Regions from separate parts of the Homo sapiens genome. Here regions 2, 3 and 4 are each linked to region 1. Evidence: promoter capture Hi-C in 16 types of primary human blood cells and fetal thymus (Javierre and others, 2016). All regions are on one chromosome and are shown on one strand. Each heading gives the region's core, a stretch centred on a gene start or on the middle of the fragment in contact. The rest is flanking DNA. Distances are from core to core; before and after follow the strand shown. Region 1 holds the start of CARD11 (caspase recruitment domain family member 11). Region 2 holds the start of LOC100129603 (a long non-coding RNA gene). Region 3 overlaps CARD11 (caspase recruitment domain family member 11). Region 4 has its middle 91 kb from the start of CARD11.

Region 1 (3,948 bases), core at 635-3,134:
AACACGCTTTACAGGAAGCAAACTCGTGTCTTCCTTCATCCCTAGCACATGTGCATCAGTGCAAACAGACTCCTCACTGGTATTTCAGATTCTTCCGTGCTTGGACCAATGTCCCATTTTTTATTTATTGTCTTGCTGAAAATTTAATTTATTGAAGGCCTTTCCTTCTAGCAGCTCGAGGAACTTTTCTCAGAACACTTAAAACATGAAACAGAAGCCTACATTCTCTAGCCATAATGAGGGGATCAAAAGAGAGGGAGATAGATGAGAGGAGAATGGTAAACTGAGGCAGAGTAGAATGAGAGGTGCAGAGGCTGGGGCAACGGGGGGGCGGGCGGTGCAGGAGGCAGTGCAATTGCAGCAAGAGAATAGAAACTAAGGTTTTCTGGGTAGGCATGGCTCATCCAGATTTTTATTTCAATAGCTTTAGGGGTACTTGCGGTTTTGGGTTACGTGGATGAAGCGTATAGTGGTGAAGTCTGGGCTTTTAGTGCATCAGTCACTGGAATAGTGCACATTGTACAGTATACATTGTACCCAATAGGTGATTTTTCATCCCCTACCCCCTCCCATTCTTCCCCCTTCTGAGTCTCCAACGTCCATGATCCCACTCTGCCTGCCTTTGCCTACCCATAGCTTAGCTCTCGCTTTTAAATAAGAACATGTAGTATTTGGTTTTCCACTCCTGAGTTACTTCACTTAGGATAATGGCCTCCAGTTCCATCCAAGTTGCTGCAAAATACTTTATTTCGTTCTTTTTTATGGCTGAGTAGTATTGCATGGCGTGTGTGTGTGTATCACATTTTCTTTCATCCAGATTTTTGAGTCTGCAATCCATGTAAACCCTTGGGACCATCCCACCCATGACGATGGCCATTTGGGGTAAATTATTAAAATGATGACATCCAGCTGGGCGCAGAGGCTCATGCCTGTAATCCCAGCACTTTGGGAGGCTGAGGTGGGCATATCACTTGAGGTCAGGAGTTCGAGGCCAGCCTGGCCATCATGTTGAAACCCCATTTCTACTAAAAATACAAAAATTAGCCAAGTTTGGTGGTGCACGCCTGTGGTCCCAGCTACTCGGGAGGCTGAGGTGGGAGAATCGCTTGAACCCAGGAGGTGGAGCTTGCAGTGAGCTGAGATTGTGCCACTGCACTCCAGCCTGGGTGACAGAGCGAGACTCCATCTCAAAAAATAAAAATAAAGTAAAATGATGACATCCAAATCACAGTTTCTCTTACAAGTATACTTCACCGGAACATCGAGGGCACAAGCTGATGGTGGGTGTCTTGGACCCCAAAGCTGTCGGGGTGAGGAAGGCCTTTGAAGGGGTGCTGACCACCCGGCATGCCCAGGAAGCTTCCAGAACAGGGGCTGAGGGAGGAAAGAGGCTTGGGGTGTAGGAGGCTGCAGGATTTGATGTGGGGCACCCCGTTCCCCTCCCATTGCAGTGACAGGCTCTGGAATTTCTTCAGAAATTCAGCTAGATCTCGGGAGCCAGTGCCCTGGAGAACCTAGAAGGGAGAGAGCCCCTCCCAAGGCCCCACCTGGACTCTGCCGGGGGTCACGGCTGGGTGGGGACTGATGCCCAGACTGGTCCAGCCTCACCCCGACTGATGCAGGTGGGCTGGGCCCTGAGACTCGCCTTGGTCTCCCCATCTCCGGCTCCCTGATCTGTCCCCAAGCACCCCCACCCCCGGCCCTGTCCCCACTCCCACCCCCACCTCCTTGCCGCCCTCCTCCCGAAGCACCGACTCCGCCCCCTCCCTCTCTTCCTTATCTTTTTCTAACCTTTCGCATTTTTTAGTCTCATTTCCTGTCGGGTTTTGCATTTCCCTCCCCCGCCCCTCCCAGCCTATGACATACTTTCTCTCCTTTTTTCTCTCCTGCCTCCTCTGGCCTTCGGACTCCTGCCCGCGCCGCCCGCAGCCCCCTCCCGGCCCTGCAGCCCCTGGGCGGGCGGCGCCCCTCGGAGGACGGCTCCGGGCCCGGGGGGACGGAGGGCCTGGTCGCCTGGAGGAAGCCGGAGGCCTGCGTGGAGGAGGCGCCCCGCGCAGCTGGCTGGCGGAGCATGAGCGCCCCAGGTAGGCGCAGCGGGGATGGGGGAGCTGGCGGAGGGGGAGCACGAGGCGGGGAGTTGGGGGAAGAGAAGAGGGCACGGGGAGGAGATGGGGGGCATCAGTGAGATGACACGGTGGCGGGGGGGGCGTCGGGGGATGGGAGTGGCTCCCGCTGGTCCCGCGATGCTGGGGGTATCCTTCCCTCTCCATCTCTGTCCCCCTGCCCCCCTTCTCTCTCTCACTCTCCTCTCCCCTTTTTCCCTTCCAACCCTTTTTCTCCCTCACTTTCCACCTCGTGTGCCTCTCCTCCGTGTCTCTTTGAGCGTCTCTGAGTATCACCGCCCAGCAAAGCCCCCACCTCCTCCTACTGGACAGGAAAAAATCGGGGGTCAGGAGGCTGCAGCCCCTTGGTGCACCTGCCCCAGAGGGAGGAAGAGAAACTTTTCTGACACCTGAAAGGCCCGGAAGTTTGCAGACCACAGCCCAGCCTGACTCAGAGGCTCCTGGGAAGGTGGGGCCTGGCTCAGGGAGGAAGGGCAGCCGCACCAAAAGTGGGTGTGGAGCTGGGAGATGGGAGAGGACAGCCCCCCGCGGGGACTGTACTAGAAAGGGGGTGGCGGGGGCACAGGAGAGGGCCCAGGTTCCCGACTGAAACCCGGAGCAGGTCCTAGCGGCCTCAGGCCTGAAAGCCACCTCCCCCAGGAGGCCCCTCCAGGCCCGATGGGGCCACCAGGCCTTCTGCTGAGCCCCCTCTGCAGATAGGGGCAGAGAGGGTGTTTCTGTCCCTCGGGGGCTCTGAGCACCGCTGGAGGCTGTCACGGGGACCCAGGTTCATGGACAGTGGTCTCAGCTGTGAGCTTCGGGGCTGCCCACACAAACTTGGTCTTGGACCAAACTGACCTCTCTCTGCCTGGCCTGCTCTCAAAGCCTTTGATTTGTAGTTCAAAACATTTTCTCCTAATATTTATGACTCGTCTTGAAGGTATAAGGTTACCAACCTACCAGAAAGGGGAGAAAAATAGTCGATCGTTCATTCCACATTTATTGAGCGCTCAGCCTGTGCATAATGCGTGCCGGAAATCCCGGGAGCCGGGAATTGATATGAGGACAGGAATTTCTCCGTAAGTGTCCACTTCTGCGCTTTCGCGGAAACTCCGGTTCTCTCCCCAGCAAGGCATCTGTAAAGAGATGACACCCCTGCCTCAGGCCAGGGCTGCCCTGAGGAGCGCAACAGTGACCAGGACTCAGCGTAATTCAAGGCCAGGGAATGCTTGGACCCGTGTGGATGTTACTTGCCTGGGTATCAGATAGGCAGGCCGTGGCTCCACTGGCCCCAGCAGTCTTCTGTTAATGCATGAATGGTCCTTGATGTGATTTTTTTAAAAATCGTGGTGAAATACATGTGACATAAAATGAGCTCGCTGAACCACTTTGAAGCGCAGAGTTGAGTGCTGTTAAGCCCGTCCATGTTATCTTGCGGCCATCACCACCATCCAGCTCTTCCCAAACTGAAACTGTGTCCCCCGTTAAACAGCAGCTTCCTGGCCCCCTCCGTAGCCCCTGGCAGCCACCCTTCCCCGTTCTGTCTCTAGGAATCTGATGACTTTCGGGACCCCATATAAGGGGGCTCATACAACCTATGTCCTTCCTGTGCCTGGCTTATTTCTCTGAGCCTCACGTCCTCACGGTTCATCTGTGTTGTAGTCTGTGACTGAATCTCCTTCCCTTTTCAGGATGAATAATATTCTATTGTGCAGATAGACCATATTTTGTGTATCCGCTCATCCTTTATGTGATTTTAAAAAATGACTTCTGGACGGGCGCGGTGGCTCATGCCTGTAATCCCAGCACTTTGGGAGGCCAAGGCGGGCAGATCACCCGAGGACAG
Region 2 (3,948 bases), core at 938-3,437, 110 kb before region 1:
CCCAGCTGTCACAGTCCCATTGGCTGGGCAGCCAGAGGCAACAGGTTTGGGTTCTGAGCCAGGAAGTTAAGAAGCCAGGCAGCACAACCCTACCACCCAGATGTCAGAGGCATTTGAACCAGAGCAACTCTATCTTGAAGAGGAGCTGGGTAAAATGAGGCTGAGACCTACTAGGTGCATTCCCAGATGGTTAAGGCATTCCAAGTCACAGGATGAGATAGGAGGTCAGCACTAGATACAGGTCCTAAACACCTTGCTGATAAAACAGGTTGCAGTGAAGAATCTGGCAAAACCCCACAAAAACCAAGATGGACACCAGAGTGACCTCTGGTCATCCTCACGGCTACGCTCCCACCAGCATCATGACAGTTTACAAATGCCATGGCAACGTCAGGAAGTTCCCTATATGGTCTAAAAGGGAGAGGCATGAATAATCCACCCCTCCTTTAGCATATCATCAAGAAATAACCACAAAAATGGGCAACCAGCAGCCCTTGGGGCTGCTGTGTCTGTGGAGTAGCCCTTCTTTTATTCCTTTCCTTTCCTAATAAACTTGATTTCTCTTTACTCTATGGACTCGCCCTGAATTCTTTCTTGCATAAGATCCAAGAACCCTCTCTTGGGGTCCAGATCGGGTCCTGTAACACAGGCTCACCTGCTCCTGTTTAAGGGATACCCACTAGGGTATCCAGCTCCAAATCTGGGCTGGACCCTTCCCCTCTGTGATCCTGGCTTCCTATTCCCAAGGGAAGAACCGTCCAGAAAGGCCCTGACCCAGAGCCCCCTAAACCCTTGAAGGAGGCTCCCTGATCCCTCCAACATCATGCTGTAGTTTTCGCCGTACAAACGACCCCATCGACTTCCTTTTTCTCCAGGGAGAGATCAGGGACCTCTCCATGATGAGTTAAACATCAAATCCTCTATAAAAGCTGCTCTGGATTCTGCCTAGGTTCTCAGCATCTGGCAAAAACATTTGCGGACCAAGGTCTGTGAGCACATCTCGCTGGTTTTTGTTTTTTTTTTTTTTTTTTTTTTTTTTGAGAGCTCTCGTGATTTCTAAATTACATCACGGGGCAGAGCGGAATGGAGGGATTTAAAACGCCCATCCTTTTAAAAAACATGAACCGTTTCAAGTACAGAGTTTGACAGAGGGTAGACGGTACGAACTTGCTCCCACAGGCCTAGTTACTTGCCTCGTGCAAGGCCCCTCTCTCCCCTTCCCACTTGGAATCATCCTTGGAATCATCTTTGTCTAGGAAGAGGATTTCACTCCGGGTCTTTGAGAACACCTCTCAGGCCTGACCCTGGCCTTGGGAAGAAGACTCCCAGCCTGAGGGTCTTGTTGAGAGTTTTAATGTCCCCTTTAGGGACATCTTTGCTTTTCTTTCTTTCAGAAGAGGAATCAATTCTGGACCAGAGGATGTCTCCCTGCCTTTGCCCTGCCTGCCTCCCCCCACATCCTTCTCTGGCAAGGGGAATGAGGCTGAGAATGACCTCCATCCGCAGGACGAGGTAGGCACTGATTTAATGAAGGACTTCACTCTCAGTCGGGCTCAGCCGCAGGGATGGCAGATGGGGCCAGGCAGGAGGCTGTGGTGGGGTCTGTGCTGGGGAGATGGGAGCAGGAGCATCTGCAGAGTGGAGGCAGGAGGGTCGGAGAGCTCGGGGCCCAGACAGTCCCCAAGCGACTCTTGGGAGGCTGGCTTTGATGCCGTCCCAGAATATGGTTCAGAGTCAAAGCAAAGGGATGAATTTGTTAGCTGGAACACGGCCCTGAATTCTCCCCAGGAAATTCACTGAAACAGAGATTTAACCCGCGAGAGTTCCAGCCGAGCGATGAATCACCCGACTTCCCTCCTGTCTTTCATAGCCCACGTTTCACTTTCCTACCTTGGATTAGATAAATTAATGCAGAACATCCGGAAACTCCCGGGGCGCTTTGAAGTTTTCAAAGGGCCTCTGCCTACATTGTCTCCTGTGATCCCCCTGGTGGCCCCCACAGGTGAATGGACGAGGAGGTTGGGGTGTGGTCCTCGTACACATGGAGACACAGCAGAACACTAAAGGTGAATGGCTTTCCCCAGGTCCCAGCCTGAGGATCAGAGCCCAGGTCACCTGCCTCATTGCTTAGTGGTTCTGGAGTTCAGGCAACTTCATACCGTGGCGCAGGGAGAAGCATGAACCCAAAGGTTGGAGCCACGTCTTAGACAAATCAGTTCTTCTCCCTGGGCTGCATCTCCTCTTCCTCTTTTTGTTTTTTTTGAGACAGGGTGTCACTGTGTTGCCCAGGCTCACTGGGCAGTGGCACAGACTTGGCTCACTGCAACCTCCGTCTCTCAGGCTCAAGTGATCCTCCCATCTCACCCTCCAGAGTAGCTAGGACTACAGGTGCATGCTACCACGCATGGCTAATTTTTGTACTTTTTGTAGAGACAGGGTCTCACTGTGTTGCCCAGGCTCCTCTGGAACTCCTGGGCTCAATCAGTCCTCCCACCTCAGCTTCCTGAGTAGCTGGGACTACAGGCTCACACCACTACACTTCTCCAATTTTTAAATTTTTTTTATAGAGTCGGTGTCTCGCTGTGTTGCCCAAGCTGGTCTAAAACTCCTGTCCTCAAGCAATCCTGCTGCCTCAGCCTCTCAAAGTGCTGAGATTACAAGCGTGAGCCACCGCACCCAGCCTCTCCTCCTTTTTAGTTGCTGGGCTGGGCTCTCTAGAACTGTGCTGTCTAACGTGGTAGCAACTAACTCCATGTGACTTTTTAAAGTTAAACTAATTTAAGCTAAATAAAAATTAAAAACTAGTTCCTCAGTCCGACTAGCCCCATCCAAAGTGCTCAGTAACTGCGTGTGACTAATGGCTCCTATACTGGATGGCACAGAAATAACATTTCCGTCATCACAGAAAGTTCTTCTGTCCAGCAACAGGACAGGGCTGGTCAAACTGCCACCTCAGGGCAAATGCGGTCTGCTGCCTGTTTTTGTAAATAAAGTTTTGTCGGAACAGGGACACACCCATTTCTTCATATATTGTCTTTGGCCCCTGTCGTGCAACCAGCATGAGTAGTTGTGACCGAGATGATATGGCCCAAAAGACCTAAAATATTCACGGTCCAGTCCTTTACAGAAAGCATGCCGACTTCTGCCCTGGAAGATGGAAAATCTGCGGATTTCCACCCAGACCGCTCAGTGTCATTCAGAGGCCCAGAATCATCCCACACTGCAGACATCCCGCCTCTCCTTGTCCCAGTTATTGGGATTCATGGAACACATCTGCCTGTGTGTGTGTTTCTAGAAAGGAAATGTAGTGCTTTATTTTTTTAATTTTTGAGACAGGGTCTCACTTTTTCCCCTGGCTGGAGTGCAGTGGTATGATCAGGGCTCACTGCAGCCTCGACCTCCTAGACTTCCATAGTCAAATGATCTTCTTGCCTCAGCCCCACCAGTAGCTGAGACTACAGGCACGAGCCGTCACACCTGGTTAATTTTTTTTAAATTATTTTTAGTACAGGCAGGGTCTCACTGTGTTGCCCAGGCTGGTCTGGAACTCCTGGGCTCAGGTGATCCTCTGGTCTTGACCTCCCAAACTGCTGGGATTACAAGCATGAGCCACCACGCGCAGCCCTAATAATTTTCAATTCAGGGCCAATCTCATTTCATCTGTTCCTCTACCCACTTTAGATGAGCCCTGGAATCTTTTGAAGCAGATTTCAGTCATTCTGTCACTTAACATGTAAATATTTCAGTAGGCATCTCTCAAAAACATAAATACGATACCAGTATCACTTAACATGTAAATATTTCAGTAGGCATCTCTCAAAAACATAAATACGATACCAGTATCACAGCTAAAGATATTCACAATAATTCCTTAATCAAATGTGCAGTGTTCAAAGTTCCCTAATTTGTCTCATAGATATTTTTTCTTGTATTATTCTAACATCTGCC
Region 3 (3,948 bases), core at 1,044-3,543, 93 kb after region 1:
TCATCTATACAAAGTTCATTGGATTCAATGGAGACCAAATCCTCATTTTTAATTACTTTAAATCCAACTTTTGCTCATGACAGAAAATAGATATTTTTACTCAAGGCACTTTGGTTGCAGGGAACAAAATCCCACTTGAAATATCTCAAATTGGCCAAGAGTGGTGGCTCATGACTGTAATCCCAGCACTTTGGGAGGCTGAGGTAGGAGGGTCATTTGAGGCCAGGAGTTTGAGACTAGCCTGGGCAAACTACAGCATGGTGGTGCATGCCTGTAGTGAGACCCTGTCTCTACAAAAAATGTTCAAAACAGCCAGGGGTGGAGGCACACACCTGTAGTCCTAACCACTCAGGAGGCTGAGGTGGGAGGATTGCTTGAGCCCAGGAGTTTGAGGCTGCCATGAGCTAGGATTGCCCCACTGCATTCCAGCCTGGGTGGCAGAGCAAAACCCTGTCTCTAAAAATGATAATTTTTAAAACAAATTTAATAGCTCAAATTAACGGGGAAGGTGGAAGGATACTGAAAGCCTACAACAAGGACCAGACACCACAGAAGGCCAAGGCTCATGAGGTTGGGAACTGAGTTATGCAGCAAGAGAGATGACCCCGGCCATCCGCTTCTCATGGAACCTCATGGGCTCACCATGGCACCACTCGGTAGACCAGCTTCCTCTGCTTGCTGGTTTCTTCTCTGCCCTCATAGCCTTGACCTGCCTGCATGTCTCCTCACCCTGGCTGAGCTCCAACCTCCATGGCTACACCAATGCCACCTTCTAGCTCAATTGCCCCCAGCACACTCACCCATCCCACCACTGTGAAATCCCCAGGTCCAGGAATTTGGCTGTGGCTAAAGAAGAACATCTCATAATGATAAAATGGTCAATCCACTGAGAAGCTATAAGAGTTATAAGCATATGCACCTATCAGAGCCCCAGATACATGAAGCAAAGATGGACAGAGCTGGAGGGAGAGATACACAATTCAACAATAAGAGTTGAAGACGTTGGCCAGGCGCAGTGGCTCATGCCTGTAGTCCCAGCACTTTGGGAGGCCGAGGCAGGCAGATCACCTGAGGTCAGGAGTTCGAGACCAGCCTGGCCAACATGGAGAAACCCCGTCTCTACTAAAAATACAAAATTAGCCAAGCATGGTGACAGGTGCCTGTAATCCCAGCTACTCAGGAGGCTGAGGCAGGAGAATCACTTGAACCCGGCAGGCAGAGGTTGCGGTGAACTGAGATCACGCCATTGCACTCCAGCCTGGGCAACAGAGTGAGATTCTGTCTCAAAAAAAAGAGTTGAAGACGTTATTACTTTACTTTGAATAATGGATAGAACAACTAGGCAGAAGATCAACAAATAAGAAACTTGTACAACACTATAAACAAACCAGACCTGGCTGGGCGTGGTGGCTTACACCTGTAATCCCAGCATTTTGGGAGGCCAAAGCAGGTGGATCACTTGAGGTCAGGAATTCGAGACCAGCCTGGCCAACATGGCAAAACCCTGTCTCTACTAAAAATACAAAAATTAGCCAGACATGCTGGCTGGAACCCAGGAAGCAGAAGTTGGAGTAAGCCAAGATTGCACCACTGCACTCCAGCCTTGGTGACAGAGGGAGGCTCTTTATCAAAAAAAAAAAAAAAAAAAAAAAAAAAAAAAAAACTAGACCTAACAGACATCTGTAGTCCACTCCATCTGACAGCAGCAGAATAATACATTAATCTATGAACTAAGTTCCTCCCAAAGTTAGTTTGGCCTCTGCCCAGGAATGAACGAGGACTGCTTGGAGGTTAGAAGCAAGATGGAATTGGTTAGGTCAGATCTCTTTCACTGTCAGAATTTTCTGTTATAACTTTTGCAAAGGCAGTTTTACCTCCTCCCTTGCAAAAGTAGAAAAAGAAGAGCTAACTAAACCTAAAGCAAGGAAAAGAAAGGAAATAATCAGGACTAGGGCAGAAGCAAATGAACCTGAGAATAGAAAAGGAATACAGAGAATTAATGAAACCAAAAGTTGGTTCTTTGATATATCGACAAAATAAGAGAGAAGATGCAAATTACTAGAATCAGAAATGAAAGGGGGGAAATTATAACTGAACTTATAGAGATAAAAAGAATTATGAAGGGAACTGTGAGCAATTGCTGCCAATAAATTAGATAACTTAGATATAATGGACAAATTCCTAGAAAGACACAAACTACTGAAACTGGCTCAAGACAAACAGAAAATATGAACAGACCTGTAATAAGTAAGGAGGCTGAATTTGTAAAAATAATCCACAAAGAAAAACCCATGCCCAGATGTCTTTACTTGTAAGTTCTACCAAACAAAAGAAAAATTAATATCAATTCTTAAAAGCCTCTTCCAAAAAGCAGAAGAGGAAGAAACACTTCCTAAATCATTCTGAGGCCAATATCAAAACCAGACAATGACATCACAGGAAAAGAAAACTACAGACCAATATCTCTTATGAATATGAATGCAAAAATCCTATTTTAAAAAACAAGTTAAATCCAGCAACATATAAAAAGCAACATATAAAAAGAATTATACACCCTGACTGTGTGGGATTTATGCCAGGAATACAAGGTTGGTTTAACATCTGAAAGTCAGGTAGTGTAACCCTATCAATACAATAAAAAACAAAAACCACATGGCAGCCTCAATAAATGCAGAAAAAGCATCTGACAAAATCGACAACCCTTTCAGGATAAAAACATTCAATAAACCAAGAAGGTAAGAAAACTTCCTCAACCTGATAAAGGACATCTATCTTAAAAACAAAAGCAAAAGCCTACAGCTAATGTCATACTTGACAGTGAAAGATTGGATGCTGTCCGCTAACATCAGTAACAAAGCAAGGATTCCTGCTGTTAACATTTCTATCTAACATTGTACTGGAGGTATTTTAGCCAGAGCAATTAGGCAAAGAAGAGAAATAAAAGGCACCCAGATTGGAAAAACAGAAGTAAAACTACCTTTATCTGCAAATGACATGATCTTATATATAGGCTATCATAAGATGTCTCTAACAAACTAACAGAACTAATAAATGATTTCACAAGGTTGCAGAATACAAGGTCAATATACAAAAATAAATTATATATCTATAGACCAGCAATGAATATCCCACAAATGAAATTAAGAAAAAAACTCCCATTTATAATGTCATCAAATTAATGAAATACTTAGGAATATATTTAACAAAAGAAGTGCAAGACTTGTACACTGAGAACTATGAAACATTGCTGAAAGAAATTAAAGAAGATTTAAAGAAAGACATCCCCCTGTTCATAGATCAGAAGATTTAATATTGTTAGGTAGCAGTACTCTCCAAATTGATCTACATATTCAGCAGATTCACTACCAAAATGCCAACTGCCTTTTTTGCAGAAATTGACATCCTAATCCTAAAATTAGGTAAAAGGCACCTAATAGCCAAAACAATCTTGAAAAAGAACAAGGTTGGGAGACCCATACTCCCAATTTCAAGGCCTACTACAAATCTACAAATCTTCGGTAATCAAGACAATGTAGTACTGGCATAAGGATACACATATAGATCAATGGAATAGAATCAATAGTGCAAAAACAAATGTTTACTTTTATGGTCAGTTGATTGTCAACAAGGGTAGCAAGATCATTCAATGGGGAAAGAGTAGTCTTTTCAAACAAACTGTGCTTGGACAACTGGACATCCACACATAAAAGAATGCAACTGGACCCCTACCTCACACCATACACAAAAATTAACTCAAAATGGATCATCCTCAATGTAAGAACTAAGGTATAATATTCAAAGGCAAAAAACAGGAGTAAGTCTTCATCATCTTGAGTTAGACAATGGTGTTTCGGATACATGCCAAGAGCACAAGTGAAAAAAAGAAAAAATAAATAAATTGGACTACCTCAAAATTTGAAACTTTTGTGCTACAAACAATGCTTTTAA
Region 4 (3,948 bases), core at 541-3,040, 91 kb before region 1:
AATAAAGGCAGTTGATTAGATAAAAGAGGAGATAAGATGGAAGATGGCATTTGCATCCCCTATTAAGTGAAAGACTTTTCTACTTTTGTGATTTGATGAGATAGATCAAAAATGACCAGTTTAGTGTCCGGGTGCAGTGGCTCACGCCTGTAATCCCAGCACTTTGGGAGGCTGAGGTGGGTGGATCACAAGGTCAGGAGATCGAGAACATCTTGGCCAACATGGTGAAACCCCGTCTGTACTAAAAATACAAAAATTAGCTGGGCATGGTGGTACACGCCTGTAGTACCAGCTACTCTGGAAACTGAGACAGGAGAATCGCTTGAACCCAGGAGGCGGAGGTTGCAGTGAATTGAGATGGCTCCACTGCACTCCAGCCTGGGCAACAAGAGCGAAACTCTCAAAAAAAAAAAAAAAAAAAAAAAAGTTACCAGTTTTGCATAAGCTACTCAGGGTTGGGTTGAGTGTCTGTCACTTGCATCCAAAAAGTTCTGACAAATATACAAGGCAACCCGTGGAGAGTTTGCTCCCTCTGAGAACGATAAAGCAGCTCTTTCTCCCCCTTGGAAAGTAGATGAGAAAGTAATTTGTATGCAAATGGAGATGGATGTGACCTCCTGCTTTATCAATAGCAACTTGTCCCCTTTTCAGAAAACAGAAACTTACGTTCCACTTTGTACAAACGGTACAGTTCAGAATGGCAGCTGGAGGCAAATCTTTCTCTCTCTTTCTCCCCCAATTGCTAAGCAAGATCTCCCTTGCTGTGTAAATGCTTTCCTACCCTTTGACACAATTGCTTCAGGTCTTTTCTCCTGGGTGAAACGTTCCGCAGAAGGGGCCGGGCAGGGAACTTTAATTAGAAAGCAGATCACCCACCCACATGAGATCAAAATTCAGAGTGTACCCGTCCCTCCTGGCTGGCATTCTAGAAAAAGCAACTGAAGGAAGTAGAATGTGGGTGGTCTGACATGTCCACATCAAGTGCCTGGTCAGCATGTCGGTCCTGGGAGGGCAGGACCCTGGGGGTCCTTTCTTAGAAGAACACAAATTATCAAAGACCTGATGTGTTGGGATAGAAAGAAGGATGCCGGCTAAGATGACATCGAGTGTAAGCTTGAAGGCTATAACAAACCTTCCAGTAACAATAATGTGTTTATGCCGTATTTATCACCTACGAAGTGTTTTCACATACAATGCTCACCAACCTCTTCTTAGAGCAATGCCCCATCCTCATGGGATCTAACTTCTGAAAGAGCCTCCAGGTCCAGAAATCCTTGTTCCTTCAGACCCATCTTTGTCATTTTTAGAGCTTAACAAATTCTGAGAGAAGGTGGCAATGTCTTTTGTATTGTCAAACGCTGCATAACAAATCACTCCAACACACAGTGGCTTAGAACAATAGTCGTTTATTACCTTGTGGTTCCCGGGGGTCAGGAATTCAGGAGCAGTTTAACTGGGTGGTTCTGGCTGGATTTGTATCATGGGTTTGCAGTCAGATGTTGGCTGGGGCTACAGTCAGAAGACTTGAGGATTCTCTTCCAAAGTGACTCAGTCACAGAGGCTTCACTTGGTGGAACTTCCCATGGAGCTCCTTGAGTGATGTCACAACATGGCGGCTGGTTTCTCTCAGAGTGAATCATGAGGTAGAAACCACAACGCCTCCTATCACCTAGTCTCAGAAACCATACGCCATCATTTCTGCCATATTCTGTTCCCTAGAAGCAATTCACTGAGTCTAGTTCACACTCAGAAGGAGGAGAATTAGGCTCCATTTTGGAAGGAAGGAGTATCAAATTACTAGTGGAGATATATATAGATATATAGATATGTTTTTTTTGGAGACGCCCAGGCTGGAGTGCAGTGGCACAATATCGGCTCACTACAACTTCCGCCTCCCGGATTCAAGGGGTTCTCCTGCGTCAGCCACCCGAGTAGCTGGGATTACAGGCATGCGCTGCCAGGCCCAGATAATTTTTTGTATTTTAGTAGAGACAGGGTTTCACTGTGTTGTCCAGGCTGGTCTCGAACTCTTGAGCTCAGGCAGTCCACCCACCTCGGCCTCCCAAAGTGCTAGGATTACAGGCGTTAGCCACAGTGCCCGGCCTAGTGGATATATTTTAAAACCAAATCTCTTGAAGCTAAAAAGCTGAGAGAATGGGCATCAAGTCAGTGCAATAATTCATTGAGTAGGGACTAGGGAATCCACCTTCATCACATAAATTTTCACTTTGCAGCGAGCATTTTTTATTTTTTAGGGTCCTGGCAGGAAACAGATGGCACGTTCAGATAGTGAATTAGTAGACACAAAAAAAGCAATCGACAAAATCCAACACCCATTCATGACAAAAACCATCCACAAACTAGGAATAAGAGGGAACTTCCTCAACTTGATGAAGTGCACCACAGAAAACCCACAGCTAACGTTATACTTAATGGTGAAAGACTGAATGCTTTTCCCAAAGCTTGGAAATGAAGCAAAGACATTCATTCTCACCACTTCCATTCGGGAATTTACTGAAGATTCGAGCCAGTAAAATAAAGCTAAAAATATATAAAATAAAGACATCCAGATTGGAAAGAAAGAAGTAAAACTTTTTTAGTCACAGATGGCATCATCCTATATGTAGAAAATCTTAAGGAATCCACCAAAAAAAAAAATCCTCCTACAACTAGTAAATTTAGCAACTTTGCAGGATACAAGATCAATATATAGAAATTAATGGAATTTTCTATACTAGTCATGAACAATTTGAGAATGAATTTTTTAAAGTTCATTCACAATAGCATCAAAAATAAACAGTTTGGAATAAATTTAACAAGAAAAATGAAAAATTGGTACACTGAGCATTATAAAGGATTGCTTAGAGAAATGAGAGAAAATATAAATGGAGAGATATTCCATGTTAATGGATTGGAAGATTAAATATTATTAAGATGTCAATCCATAGATCAAATTGATCTATAGATGCAATGTAATCCCTGTTAAAGTCCCAGCAGGATTTTTTGAAGAAAGTGACAAGCTGGTTCTAAAATGAATGCAGAAATGCAAAAGACATACAATTGCTGAAACAATTTGGGGAAAGAAAAACAAAGCTGGAGGACTTATCCTACCCAATTTCAAAGCTTACTCTAAAGCTACAGTAATCAAGACCGTGTGGCATTGGAGTAAGGATAGGCATATATTGATAATGGTACAGAAGTGAAAGCCAAGAAATAAGCGCTTATGTATATGGCCAACGGATTTTTGACAATGATGTCAAAACAATTGATAATGATGTCAAGACAATGGAATGGGGTGGGATACTCTTTTCAAACATGGCATTGTAACAGTTGGATATCATATACTAAACACACACACACAAAAGAATGTTAGGCCCTTAACTCACACCAAAAATAAAAATTATCTCAAAATGTATCACAGACCTAAATGTAAGAGCTACAATTAAAAAATTTCTAGGAGAAACCAACAAGAGAAAATCTTCATGGCTTTGGGTTAAGCAAAGAGTTCTTAGACATTACACCAAAAGTATGAGCCAATTATAAAGTGGATGTCATTTTAATTTCAAATTAAAAGCTTTAAAAGACACCTTGAAGAAAATGAAAGAACAAGCTACAGACTGGGAGAAAATATGTACCAGTCATGTATCTGATGAAGAACTTGTACCCAGAATATATAAAGAACTCTTGCAACTGATAATAAGACAAACAACCCAAATAAAAAATAAGCAAAAGACTTGAACAAACATTTCACTAAAGTTTCTCCTAGAAGTTTTATAACTGTAGCTCTTACATTTAGGTCTGTGATTCACTTTGAGATAATTTTTATTTTTGGTGTGAGTTAAGGGCCTAACTTTTTCGTGTGTGTATATGATATCCAATCTATACAAATGACTAAAAAGCACCAGCCTGCCCAACATGGCAAAACTCCATCTCTACAAAAAAATACAA

What was found. The method cuts DNA at HindIII sites, captures the fragments that hold promoters and counts their contacts. A CHiCAGO score of 5 or more calls a contact.
Region 2: a fragment that was not itself captured here is called in contact with the fragment with the promoter of CARD11 in region 1 in 2 of 17 cell types (total CD8 T cells and non-activated CD4 T cells); the score reaches 6.1 in total CD8 T cells.
Region 3: a fragment that was not itself captured here is called in contact with the fragment with the promoter of CARD11 in region 1 in 4 of 17 cell types (total CD8 T cells, non-activated CD4 T cells, activated CD4 T cells and 1 more); the score reaches 7.7 in total CD8 T cells.
Region 4: a fragment that was not itself captured here is called in contact with the fragment with the promoter of CARD11 in region 1 in 1 of 17 cell types (total CD8 T cells); the score reaches 5.1 in total CD8 T cells.

The regions. Positions count from the first base shown.
Region 1 is chr7:3,041,803-3,045,750 of GRCh38, reverse strand. CARD11 (caspase recruitment domain family member 11) reads left to right here and starts at 1,884. Exons shown (of 25, transcript NM_032415.7): 1 at 1,884-2,084. RefSeq lists an enhancer at 1,662-1,956 and a silencer at 1,822-2,171. The HindIII fragment of the contact is 15,618 bases long and covers 1,362-3,948 here.
Region 2 is chr7:3,155,702-3,159,649 of GRCh38, reverse strand. It overlaps LOC100129603 (a long non-coding RNA gene), which reads left to right and starts at 1,077. Exons shown (of 4, transcript NR_126024.1): 1 at 1,077-1,159; 2 at 1,395-1,512. The HindIII fragment of the contact is 7,116 bases long and covers 1-3,948 here.
Region 3 is chr7:2,949,248-2,953,195 of GRCh38, reverse strand. The region is part of intron 2 of CARD11 (caspase recruitment domain family member 11); the gene reads left to right. Among named protein-coding and RNA genes, the nearest start is that of CARD11-AS1, 7.2 kb to the right of the region's middle. The HindIII fragment of the contact is 6,187 bases long and covers 1-3,948 here.
Region 4 is chr7:3,132,509-3,136,456 of GRCh38, reverse strand. No RefSeq gene overlaps it. Among named protein-coding and RNA genes, the nearest start is that of CARD11, 91 kb to the right of the region's middle. The HindIII fragment of the contact is 1,349 bases long and covers 1,116-2,464 here.